Linked DNA regions of Homo sapiens: all the other regions are linked to region 2. The links are contacts of gene promoters, found by promoter capture Hi-C in blood cells and fetal thymus (Javierre and others, 2016). All regions are on one chromosome and are shown on one strand. Each heading gives the region's core, a stretch centred on a gene start or on the middle of the fragment in contact. The rest is flanking DNA. Distances are from core to core; before and after follow the strand shown. Region 1 overlaps ELP1 (elongator acetyltransferase complex subunit 1). Region 2 holds the start of FRRS1L (ferric chelate reductase 1 like). Region 3 overlaps ELP1 (elongator acetyltransferase complex subunit 1).

What was found. The method cuts DNA at HindIII sites, captures the fragments that hold promoters and counts their contacts. A CHiCAGO score of 5 or more calls a contact.
Region 1: a contact is called between a fragment that was not itself captured here and the fragment with the promoter of FRRS1L in region 2, in 2 of 17 cell types (activated CD4 T cells and naive CD4 T cells). The highest score is 5.6, in activated CD4 T cells.
Region 3: a fragment that was not itself captured here is called in contact with the fragment with the promoter of FRRS1L in region 2 in 4 of 17 cell types (non-activated CD4 T cells, naive CD8 T cells, naive CD4 T cells and 1 more); the score reaches 6.0 in non-activated CD4 T cells.

What each region holds. Positions count from the first base shown.
Region 1 is chr9:108,901,897-108,905,996 of GRCh38, forward strand. ELP1 (elongator acetyltransferase complex subunit 1) reads right to left here. Exons shown (of 37, transcript NM_003640.5): 15 at 1,667-1,773; 16 at 943-1,046. Among named protein-coding and RNA genes, the nearest start is that of ELP1, 30 kb to the right of the region's middle. The HindIII fragment of the contact is 1,537 bases long and covers 1,536-3,072 here.
Region 2 is chr9:109,164,730-109,168,849 of GRCh38, forward strand. FRRS1L (ferric chelate reductase 1 like) reads right to left here and starts at 2,520. Exons shown (of 5, transcript NM_014334.4): 1 at 2,172-2,520. The coding sequence starts at 2,409. The HindIII fragment of the contact is 4,411 bases long and covers 1-2,772 here.
Region 3 is chr9:108,866,251-108,870,589 of GRCh38, forward strand. ELP1 (elongator acetyltransferase complex subunit 1) reads right to left here. Exons shown (of 37, transcript NM_003640.5): 37 at 1,267-2,932. The coding sequence ends at 2,865. Among named protein-coding and RNA genes, the nearest start is that of ACTL7A, 6.2 kb to the left of the region's middle. The HindIII fragment of the contact is 2,322 bases long and covers 330-2,651 here.

The DNA.
Region 1 (4,100 bases), core at 1,054-3,553, 260 kb before region 2:
ATATCTCAAACCCATCTCCTTTTTCCCCTCACTAACTCCACTCAACCGGTGTTGATCCCATATTCCAGTCTCGTCACTCTCCAATCAAGTCTCTTCTGGGCAGCCAGAATCACTGTCCAAACCATGAAGCAGAACACATTACTCTGTTATTAAAAATCACAAGAAGTTTCTAATCTTTGTTCAATTAAAGAACCCAAATTCCCTCCTATGACTGTCACTGAGCTCCAGCCACAATACTTCCATCCAGTCCCTTGAATAAGATGAGCTCTTGCTAAGCTCAAGGAGTTTGTTGTTCCTTCTGCCTGGAGACAGAGCCTTCTTTTTCTTCACATCTCAGCACACACATCACTGCCTCCGAGAGGCCTTCCTGGACCACCAGATGCAGGACTCCCATTCTCATAGCCACCATCCTCAAATTACCCCTCAAACATCTCAGTATTCTCTACCAGTATACTCTGTCCATTTCCATCACACTCCCAACAAAGGGAATCATTACATTGAAATTAATAGATCACAAGTTCCAGAAGAGCAGGAATTAGTCAAGCGGTTTTGTTTTCCAGCCACTGCATTCTACCATCCACCACAATTATAGGCATTCTAGTATGTGTTGAATAAAAATCTACTAAAACTATTCTCAAGATCACATTTCTGTTTCCCCTCCTAAATAAAATTAACTTTGAATGATTTGTACAACTAGGGATAAAAGGTTGCTAATCACATATATTATCTCATTTAGTCTTCTGAACCCTGATAGACAGATACTGATTTTCCCATTTTATAGATGAATAAGGTGTGGCTTATGAAAGTGAGATCATTTCCCACTATTGTCTAGGCATTTAGTGGAGACCCAAGTCCACCTCCAAAGCCCACGCTCTTTCTACTTAATGCCATCAGTCCCTGGGTAACTACTTTAAGTAAATTTCCTGCTCCGTGTTCACCTACCTCTTCTCCAATCATGGCCAATTCGGTCTGGGTGCATGGATAAGGAAACCGAACAGGAAATCCACCAGAGTTCTTCCATGGTTTAATAGCCAGAGAAGGTGACTCTGCAAGATTCACAGATCTAGTTCACAAATAGCTGATGCGCTCTTTGCAAAAAACCATCAACATCAACATTTGCTAAAACACTTAACATGCAATTTCAATCACTTTTTTTCTCTAATGCTGGCATTATTTATTTATATATATATTTTTATTATACTTTAAGTTCTAGGGTACATGTGCACAATGTGCAGGTTTGTTACATATGTATACATGTGCCATGTTGGTGTGCTGCACCCATTAACTTGTCATTTACATTAGGTATATCTCCTAATGCTATCCCTCCACCCTCCCCCACCCCACGACAGGCCCAGGTGTGTGATGTTCTCCTTCCTGTGTCCAAGTGTTCTCACTGTTCAGTTCCCACCTATGAGTGAGAACATGCGGTGTTTGGTTTTTTGTCCCTGCGATAGTCATCAATCACTTTTTTAAGAGTACGTTAGTTCATTAAAAGAGGAAACAGGAGTAGAATACACTTGCCAATTCCACTCTAAAGCTTAGGGTTTTCCAGGGTAGTTAAAAGACCTGACAATCAATATTGAACTGACAAGATACAAGTACATGTTCTTAAGAACTAAGCATCTATGTAAGTCATAACATGCTTTCCTAACACCTTGATACTCACCCCAAAGGTACTTAAATATCTGGCCATCAGCCAGCTGTAATACTACTGACTTGGTCTTGGAATTGCAACATAGACTGATTATGACCCCATCCACCGCTGCAGATGAACTGACAAAAAAAAGGAGAAGGGAGTGTAAACAGACCATTTTTCTCAAAAATAGTGACATTTCACTGATTTTGAAAATCAACAATTTCCTTTTGATGCTGCACTACCTACTTCAATACAATGTAGACAAAATACATATATACACACCCAATACTATACACACACACACACACACACACACACACTTATACACTTAGAGACAGACGGTTAGATGAATAGATAAAACTACTCCAAACCAAAGCCCAGATAAAGCCACATCTGCTACATGACACCATTTTCCACAAACCCAATAAGGTAGTTGTTTACACTGTGAAGTCATCATTCCTCTTCTGGCCACAACTTACTGCAACTTATTACAAAGTATTGCCTTCATTAGACATGGATGGTACCAATATCATTTCTGTCTGCTTAAAATAGTTAAAGCAGCTGGTCTGTAGGAAAATGAGCACACTCAATATCTCTATCACTATCATATCGATTGATGGAAAATTGTGGATTTTCACTAATGAGATGAAGGGAATTTGTTATCACCATTACATTTTTTCCCTGAGTCAATGGAGCGAAGTAAAATTTCACTATTTTTTTTTTTTTTTTTGGACAGTGTCTTGCTCTGTTGCCCAGGTTGAAATGCAGTTGACACAATCACAGCTCACCGCAATCTCAACCTCCTAGGCTCAAGTGATCCTCCCACCTCACCTTCTCAAGTAGCTTGGACCATAGCCACGGAAGCAGAATTTCTCAAAAGAGGAGGAAGAGGTAGTGATTAAAAAAAGAAAAAAGAGACAAAGAAGTAGTGATAAAAGCAAATGATGTTAATGCTAACATTTAATTCAAAGTTTTTAACCAATCTACAAAAAAACTAAACATTATAACAATAGGGAATTCCTCTACAAATGCTTCAAATTTTGTGAGGATAAATTATCTGTCAAGAAGAGAACAAACTCTGGAGCTAGACTCGCTGGGATTTGATCCTGGCTCCACCTGCATGATCTCAGGCAAGTTATCTAACTGCTCCATGTCTTAGTTGTCTCATCTGTAAAATGATGGTGCAAATGGCATATACTTTACAGAGGTATTATGAGAAATAAGTAAGCTAAAACAGACAAAGCATTTAGAAGAGTATTTTTTACAAAGTATAAGCTAAAGTAAATGTAAACTAAATCGAGGGACTTTGTAGTCCTCAAAAGCATTAATATTTTATATGAACAAAACAGTCTTTTTGAGAAATAAAAGTCAAAGCAGTAGAAATATACTGTAAATGACTTCTCATTTCCTTTACAGCAAATGAGATGACTGCATCAAGCTTTTGCCTCTACAAGCTAATGATGAAGAATTTCAAATCTGAAGAAGTAGAAACTTAGTAAATTGCTCCGCTTTTCAAAAGGTAATCTAATGGCTTACTTTAAGTGCTACATATTTCTAGAACATATTCTGCATTTAGACATGTTAACAAAAGGCTTTTTCAAAATATCACGAAAGACTATGAGTCAAAGAGTAGCAGCAAATGACTGCATTAAAATGTTTTATGTCTATAAATTTATGTAATGTATATATATAAAGGAAAGGTTCCTAATTTTGCAACAACGTTTCTCAGAAATCTCACCAGTAGGGCTTTAATTACAAATTAATCTGGGGATTAGTGTCAGTGGACAAAGGTGCCAAGTATTGACACTGGAAACAAGGAGTTCTGGGAACTGGCTAGAAAATGCTATCAACTATACAACAGGGCTTACATTACACAGAAGAGCATTCATTAACTGAAACCTGTTACATAATGAAGATATAGTCAGGAATCAAAACAAAACTCAGGCCCAGAGAACAGTGAAATTTCAGCAAAGAAGAATAGAGACTTTCTAATGGTAAATGTAGTCAGGTACAAAATAGGATATATAGAAGAGGAGGCTGGAAGAAGCATTTTGAAGTCACCACATCAAAACAAAGCATATATGTGCAATTATGCATCATTTAACGATGGGGATACGTCTGAGAAATGTGTTGTTAGGTGATTTCATCATTGTGCAAACATCATAGAGTACTTACACAAACCTAGGTGGTGTAGCCTACTACACCCCTAGCCTATGGGGTATGGCCTATTGCTACCAGGCTACAAACCTGGACAGCATGTTACTTTACAGAATACTACAGGCAATTGTAATACCATGTCAAGTATTTGTGTATCTAAACATAGAAAAGGTATGTATACACACACACACACACACACACACACACACATATATGCGCATGACTGCATTTATACAAAATTTCTTCCCATCACATTAGCCCATGAGAATTAGCCACTCTAATTATGCTTGACAGTTATTAAAATCAA
Region 2 (4,120 bases), core at 1,270-3,769:
TAGAGGCAGACTTCAGGAGGGTTAAACCAGTTTTATGTGCAGAATGGTGGGGGCGCGAAGCAGACACACTAGGGATCGGTACAAAGCCCTGCTGCCTGCTATGTGATCACCTCACCTAAATGCCTTCCCTCTTCTGTGTCACTGAAGTCTTTCCTACTTCATGGCTTGACTCTATAAAAGCTGTCCTTGATGGCTGTGGCCCACCTGATGTCCACATTCATAAAACTTTCTGGACTATACAATGAACATATCATTCTCTCTGCAGAGAGACTCAAAGGACGTACAGAATCTGAGCTTATCCTTCATTTGTTAGATGCATGAGCCCAATCAGAATACAAGTTCTCACATACCACATTTAAGTCACCTGGCAGCACTAGGCTGTGTACAGTGTAAAGATACATTAGATGCTTTCAGAAACAGACGGGCTTCGGAATATTTATTCTTTTCCAGAGTGACAGATTCCGCCACATGGCTCTCCAGCTAGAAGACTACATTTCTTAGTCTCCCTTGAAGCTAGGTCATTGTAACTATGTTTTTGCCAAAGGAATGTGAACAGCAGTAATGTGGGCAGCCAGCCTAAAAGGTAACTACTTGCCCTGAACTTCTCTTTTTCTTTCCCTCAATCTTGAACAAGGACATGCAACCTGGCTTCTACTGTACTGATGAGGACAAAGCCTCAGGGGGATGGCAGAGCAACAAGATGGAAAGAACCCGGGTCCCTGAATGACCTTGCGGAACAGAGTCATCCCACCAGCCCCAGACCAACCAGACTCTTATCAGAGAGAAAAATAAACTAGCTTATTTAAACCACTATATGTTAAAATCTCTAATTCAGCAGTTAAGCCTCTACTTAATACATTTCCCCAAATCCATTCTCTCCATCTTCTTTAATACAATAATTCTGATTTTTGAACTGGGCATATTATGTCTCAGCTAATAGGCTCTATTTTACATCCTCCTTTGTACCTATGTGCAACCATATGATTAAGTTGTGGCCAAAGAAGTATAAAAATTGTTATATGAAACTTCCGAGTAATCCCTTTATAAAGTAGTCAGTGACCTTCTTCCTGCTTCATTTTTCCCACTGTCTAGAATGTGAACATAATGGCTGTAGCTCAAGCAGTTATTTTGAACCATGAAGTTACATGCTAAGAATTGTGAAGAAACAGAAGGGCAGGATCCAGAGACACTGGTGACCAAGGAGCCTCCAGACCAGTTCTGGATTACCTATTTCTAGTTTTCTTTCTGTAAGAGAGAAACTTCTATCTTGTTGAAGCTATTAATGTTTGCTTGTTGTATACAGCTGAACTTAATCCTAACAACAGACACATCCACTAACAGATATGAGCTCCTGGGACTCAACACTTCAAACCCCAGCTTGATGGTTGGATATCCCTCTTAGCAGAAGAAAAGGAAAGTCACTACTTCCCAAAGTTGCTTAAAGAGGCCAGTTTCCATTCCTTCTGACCACCATCCGCTTGGCTTTTGTGCTCGTTGAAGCAGCTCTACAGGGAGGCCCTTGGCTGACAAACTCCCAGTCTGCGGGCCCAGCAGGCCACAACAATGGTGGCTCGCACTAGGGGACCATAACATATGTGGCGTCATAAAAGAGGAGGGATGGGAGTGGGGAGGCTGATGTGACCCAGCTCTGACGGGTCAGTGAGCAGGAACAGAATGCTACGAGGTGGGCGCTGGTCACTGCAAATTTAAGTCAATACAGACAGGGAGGAAATAAGGCAACCTCTCTCTTTAGGTTGGGGTTTTTCTGCTTCCCCCTAGCTGCCCTGGCCAGATGGCGGCCTCCTCCCCTATAACCCAACCCCAGGCGGCAAAGGTGGAAGCCAGATCTAAGAACTGGGGGAGCTTAGACTCAGCACCCACCCCTATCCACAGCCTTGCAGAACTTGGATGACCCCTCCCTCTCCCAGCCTCACTCTCCCCATCTGTAAAGCGGGCGGCAGGCATTGACAGCTCTTTGGGCCTTTCCTCCAGGCCGGCGGAGGCCTGGGCACTGCGCTCCCCATCCTGGCCTCGCCTCTGCAAGAGCTGCCTCCACGGACATCTTTTCCGACCCCCTCCCCCTCCCTCGCCCCCTCTCCTCGTTCCCCCGATCCTCGGTCCCCCACCCCCGGTCTCCCCTCCCGCAACCCCTCGCCCTCCCGCAGCCTCACCCTCCTCCGACAGGTAGCGCAGGTCGTAGAACTCCCCCGCGAAGGTGCCGTAGGAGGAGTCGTGGCGCGGCACCGCCTCGTCGGCGCCCGTGTCCCCCCGCGCGCGTCCCCGGGGTCCCCGGCCCCCCGGGCCCGCACCGTCGTCCGCGGGGCTGGCTGCGCAGGCGGCGGGCCCCGTCAGTAGCAGCAGGAGCAGCGACGCCCAGACCCCCGGGTGCTGCCGGGGCGGCCGCGCCATCCGTGCGCACAGATCCCGCAGCCAGGCCGCTCGGGCCGCAGCGGGGGCGCCGCGGGCGCGGGCCGGGACTGAGCCTCCGCCGAGGCCACCAGCACGCGCCCGCGCAGCCGCGGAGCCTCCCGCACCCCCGCCTCCCTGCCTCGGTCTGCGCATCCTCGCTCCAGCACCGCAGCCTCCCCCTTCTTCTTGGAACCCCCCTCCTCCCCGCACCGATCTCTCCTTCCTAGCAGCTTCCCTTCTACCGTCCTTCTTTCCATTCTCCCCATCTCCCCGACTTCCCTCCACGCAGGCAGATTTGGCCCTTCTGGCCCCTTGCTACTCCGGAGTGTGGTCCGCGGACCGGCAGCATCAGCATCACCTGGAAGCTTGTTAGCATCGCTGAGGCCCCACTCCAGACCCATGAAGCGGGATGTTCATTTCATCAAAATTCCCAGGAGATCCCAATGCACGTTCAATTTATGAAACGCTCCTCTAGAGAGTTTACCCTGGACACACCTGGTCAGTGCTGCCTCCTCAACCTTGTGCCGGCACTTTTTGGTTTACATAAAGCACTTGCTAGACCTATTATTTCTTGGATCATCACAGAAGGAACTTGAAATTGCAAGACCCCCACAATAGAGCTAGGTAAACTGAGGTGTTTAGAGACAGAGAAAACTGGATTCACCTGCTTCCTCTCCAGGCTCTTGCGGTGTGTAATCAACAGAGGCTGGTGCCAGTAGGTAACCTGTTCCCCTTCAAAACTAGGCTTCTGGTTTACTCTCTTTCCCTGCAGCAAGCACGCGCAGGCCTTGGAAGGCCCACACCGTATCTGAGGGCCATGCTGAATTGTTGATTTTTCTCAAATCCATTCCTGCTGCTTGCAGTTCACTTTTGGCTATTTACTCAGCCATCCATTGATTCACACCAAGCATTTGCTTTATGGCAGGTCCCAGGGTTCTCTTTTGATGATGGTTGTTGGGGTGATATATTCGAATTGCTAAGCTGTTTTCCATCAGAGAGGCGGACGCAATTCCTTTCAGGCTGGTGTTGCAGAGCCAGCATTTTAACCTGCTTTTCCTATTTTATTATTTTATTTTATTGCATAAACAAAATAATTATGGAGGCAGAAAAGCATAGAGGTCCCAAATGCAGACCTAGAAGTCAGACTGCCTGATCTCTCATGATTAGTCATTGACATGATGCAATGAAGATTAGGGAAGATCATAGAGGTAAGGATCAATAGGGTTCAGTGCTGTAAGTGGCATGCACACATGTACACAATATTGTGAAATGTTAATATTCAAAAGGAAACTAGTGATCTTAACCCTTTATGGCCTGATTGGCTGAGAGATAAGGGTAGTGCTGTTGAAACAGGGGAGACATGATGGGGGACTTAGAAGTCAGGTATTTTCTATTAGGTATCAGCTAACAGTGGGCTGTCCAACTGGAATTTAAACATATTAATCCTGATGGCTGAATTGAGGTGTAATTCATGAAAACCTTGGGCTTCACTAGGTCCCCCAACATAGCAGTTGTCACAAAAAATAGATCAGATTATTTGAAAAAGGTAAGATGAACTATGATTACTTTAAAAACTCAAGAGACTTCTTCCCAAAAAGCATAGCGTGGCAATGCATAACATTCTAAAAAAGCTGATCCAACAGATTGAAAATCTGTTAAAGTGTAGTCCTTCAAAAAAAAAAAAAAAAACAAAAACAAAAACAAAAACCTT
Region 3 (4,339 bases), core at 241-2,740, 300 kb before region 2:
AGCAGCCCACTGCAGGCACAGGCAAGGGCTCAGGGAGCACAGAGAGCACAGAAACACGAGAATCCAAAGCAGGCCTTCAGCACTGCCAAATGTTACCAAATTAGCTTTGTCTTATCTCCAGCCTCGTGAATATGTACAGCTACCTAGCTCCTAAGATGTTTATTTGCACCCAGTTACTAATAAATACAACAAACAAGAAACAACAGCCAAAGACTCCCCAGGGCTTGTCCAGGCGGTGCTTCTAGAGAATATGGGAGTACAATAACCAGCACAAGAGGAAGAACAAATCTAATTTTGCTTCTCAAATTTGCAGTCACCTTAAGTTACCAAGCTTCATCAGTTTTACTTATTTTTAAAAACACCCACTTCAGCTATTGCTATGACAAATCTCTCAAATGTGTATGTATATATACATGCATATATAATTAAATTTAATTTAAAATATGCAGCAGGGCTAAGAAATTGCACCAAGCTACATCCATAAAGGCATATAAAAATTGCTCCTAAGTTTTGTTTTGTTTTGTTTTGTTTTTTTGAGACAGAGTCTTGTTCTTGTCCAGGCTGATGTACAGTGGCACGATCTTGGCTCACTGCAACCTCCACCTTCCCAGGTTCAAGTGATTCTCCTGCCTCAGCCTCCCAAGTAGCTGGGATCACAGGTGCCCACCACCACACCGCCTAATTTTTTTTCTATTTTTAGTAAAGGTGAGATTTCACCATGTTGGCTAGGCTGGTCTCAAACACCTCAGCCTCCCAAAGTGCTGGGATTACAGGTGTGATCCACCGCACCCGGCCTCAGTTTTTTCAAAAGCATAAATTTAAAATGCACTTTGACCGAAGAAGACAGTCTTCTGCAAGTTCCTTCTTGAAGTTTAGAGCATCTGAGCAAAGCTATCTGACTCAATGGAACCAAGAAAAGTGAAGGTTTTAGCTTATTGCAGCATGAACTTGCTTTGGGACAGGATCCAAATTTATGTACTCTTTTCTAAAACTTGACAGACTCTTTCCCCCAAATTAAGCATTCATCACTCAGAGGAGTTTCCTCCTTTTCTCATACACTCAATTTTCCCCCATGAATATTCAATTCTTGGCTTTGCCTCAATTTGGAAGGTCTCCTCCTGCCTGCTTCTTCTAAAAAGGAACAAAATCCAATCCTGCTCAGATGAGAGAAACAGTAATTGATAGTAATTTGCATTCAAACAAATTATTTCTTGCTGCTTCAATACATTATTTAAGGAAACTGAATGTCCAGGAAAATTCACACCATTATCAATAAACACATTTACTTCTATTTCCAGTCTATCAGCATGGGTCCCTTTACAGTTATCCAAAGCAAGAGCACTATATTTCAATATAAGTTACCATGCTTATTTACCCATGCCAAAGAGTGATTACAAAGTACTTGCAGCCTTTCAATATTGGGCACTTAATTACAGCAAACCCATGTAAGTCAAAAAGTAGATTTCTCCAAAGCAAAGTATATCTTCTTTCTCTTCTTTTTAAAAACTCCTATGAGATTGTGAAAATGTTCAAACATACAGAAAAGTTGAATTTTACAGTGAATACTCCTAGATTGATTCTATAGTTAACATCTTGCTATACTGGGAAAGGCTTCTTAAATTACAATTTTGGCTATATCACTTCTTTGAGGATCAAAAGCAGCATTTCCTGTTAGTTTATGTACAGTGCTGTAGTTTAGGCATTTGTTTCCCTAAACCTCATGTTGAAATGTGATCACCAGTGTTGGAAGTGGGGCCCAATGGGAGGTGTTTTGGTCACAGGGGCAGATCCTACGTGAATCGCTTGTGCCATCCTCGTGGTAATGAGTGAGTTTTCACTCTATTAGTTCCTTTGAAAGCTGGTTGTTGTTATAGAGACACAAATGGGCTAAGATACACAGTAAGAAAGGTCTGGTTCTGATATTTAAAACATGGAAGAATTTTTAATCAGAATGAAGTGGGCGTTTTCTAGACTCACCATGAAAATAAAATATTCTCATTTTGAGACAGTTTTTTTTGGTGAGGGCGTGGAGAATTGAATAAAGAGAAGTCAGTAAAGTACCATGACGAAAAATAAATGAAGTGGCCTAGACACTAACAAAAATATCTGAGTTAAAGAAACAGTATTTGGAGAACAGAGAATAATTCACAACCATGCATGCCATACAATGCACACTGATCACTCACACCAACTGTGCATGATACTGTTTAGAAATTCTAATCTGTTCTAGCTCTAACATTGCTAACTCTCTAGCAGAAAATACACAGGCAGTAAAACAGTCCCTATAGACATTGTAATTATAGGAGGCTCAGCCCAGTTATAACTGAAAGCACATGACCTGGTAAGATGTTACAAAATAATAGCTGTCAGCAAAGGAGGGCTTATAATTTCAAAGGATACTTTTTATTCTGCTTTAGTTTAAGGTGACAAGAAGCTATTTAAGTGATTACATTTGACCAAATGTAGCACTAATAGCCATTGTAATCTTCTCCGCCAACAAAATAAGACAATTTAGAAACATTGTTTTACTTGTCTTCACACTTTGGAGGTAGAAATCATGAAACATTAATCTCATGATTACCATAATTATGCTCTCAAACAGCCCAAGTGAAAGAACAATCATTCTCACAAAATGGTGCCATAATGGTTAAAGCTTAATGTCTTGCTAATGATCAAGATGTATACACAACATAAAATAAATAGAATTGCTTGTTGTCTGCTGAAGTTCTTGGCAATGCTAAGGTAAGTTATCATTTTACTCTTTCCAGTTCTCAATAGCCAGCCCTCAAAGAGCAAGGGGTGGTAGGACAACAGGAATGAGTGGAAATGGTCTTCTCTGTCGGATCCCTCCTAACTGCAGTCACTCAGTCTAGCAGGCTCAGCTTCCACTGGGTTCTTCTGTTGATCTTTGGTGGTATAAAAAGCTCAGCATCTAAAAGCAAGAAAGGAAGGGAAATTGTGACAGACATACTCTTGTTGGAGGGCGCTGAGGCAGTAACTCTAAACTAAACAAACTAGGCAGGTGGAGTTTGCAGCAATAAGACCATCAGAGCCAGAGTTCATGTGTCTGCTACCCCTGCAACCTCCAGGTCAGAGCAAACACAACCTGGAGGCCCCGCCCTGAGAGGAGGGACTGCATTTCAACCTCAGGCATGCTCACCCAGTGATTCAAAGTGGAAGAATGTTCTGTATTTCAAACTGGTGGGAGGGGTGGTGGCAGCAGTCACATGGCTGTATACATTTATTAAAACTCATCAAATTGTACACCTGAAATCTCTGCATTTCACTATATGTAAAGTCTAGCTCAATTTTTAAGGAATAGCAAAATGTGATAGCACATATTCAGTAAGTGAAGTTAATGGACAGGAACTACTTTATGATGAAACTTCGACAAACATGTTGATCAATAAAGATGCCCCTGCTTTAAAAAAAGTGAATGGAGAGAGAGGGTTAGGAAAAGATTCTGTCATTGTAACCTAAAACTCCCAGGCACTCTTTCACTTAGATTTGTTAAGTTTCTTTTCTAACCAGGAATCATATACTGCAAGCAGAGATAGGAGAAAATATGTATATATAAGGATTTTCTTTTTCAGCATTATTTATGATAAACTTCCAGCAGTAAATCTGTACATATGAGCCATGCAGGCATGAAAAATTACAGTTGATCCTTGAATGTAGGGTTATGGGTGCGGACCCCCCTGCACAGTCAAAAATCTGCATATACCTTTTTTTTTTCTTTTTTTGAGACAGGGTCTCATTTTGTTGCCCAGGTTGGAGTGCAGTGGCACGATCATGACTCACTGCAGCCTCGACCCCCTGGGTTCAAGCGATTCTCCTGCCTCAGCCTCCCAAGTAGCTGGGACTACAAGTGTACACCACCATACCTGGCTAATTTCTGTAGAGACAAGGTTTCACCATGCTGCCCAGGCTACTCTCAAAACTCCTGGTCTCGTTCCACCCACCTCAGCCTCCCAAAGTGCTGGGATTACAGGTGTGAGCCACCACACCTGGCCCCATGTTTAACTTCTGAATCTCCAAAACTCAAGTACCAATAGCTTACTGTTGTTCGGCAGTGTATTGGCAGCATAAAAAGTCAGTTAACAAATGTTTTGTATGTTATATGTATTATATACTACATTCCTACAATAAAGTAAGCTAGAGAAAAGAAAATATTAAGAAAATCATAAAGAAAACAATATTTACTATTCATTAAATGGAAGTGGATCATCATAAAGGTCTTCATCTTTGTCATCTCCACGTTGAGTAGGCTGAAGTAGAGGAGGAAGTGGAGGGGTTGGTCTTGCTGTCTCAGGGGTGGTAGAGATGAAACAGGTAGGGG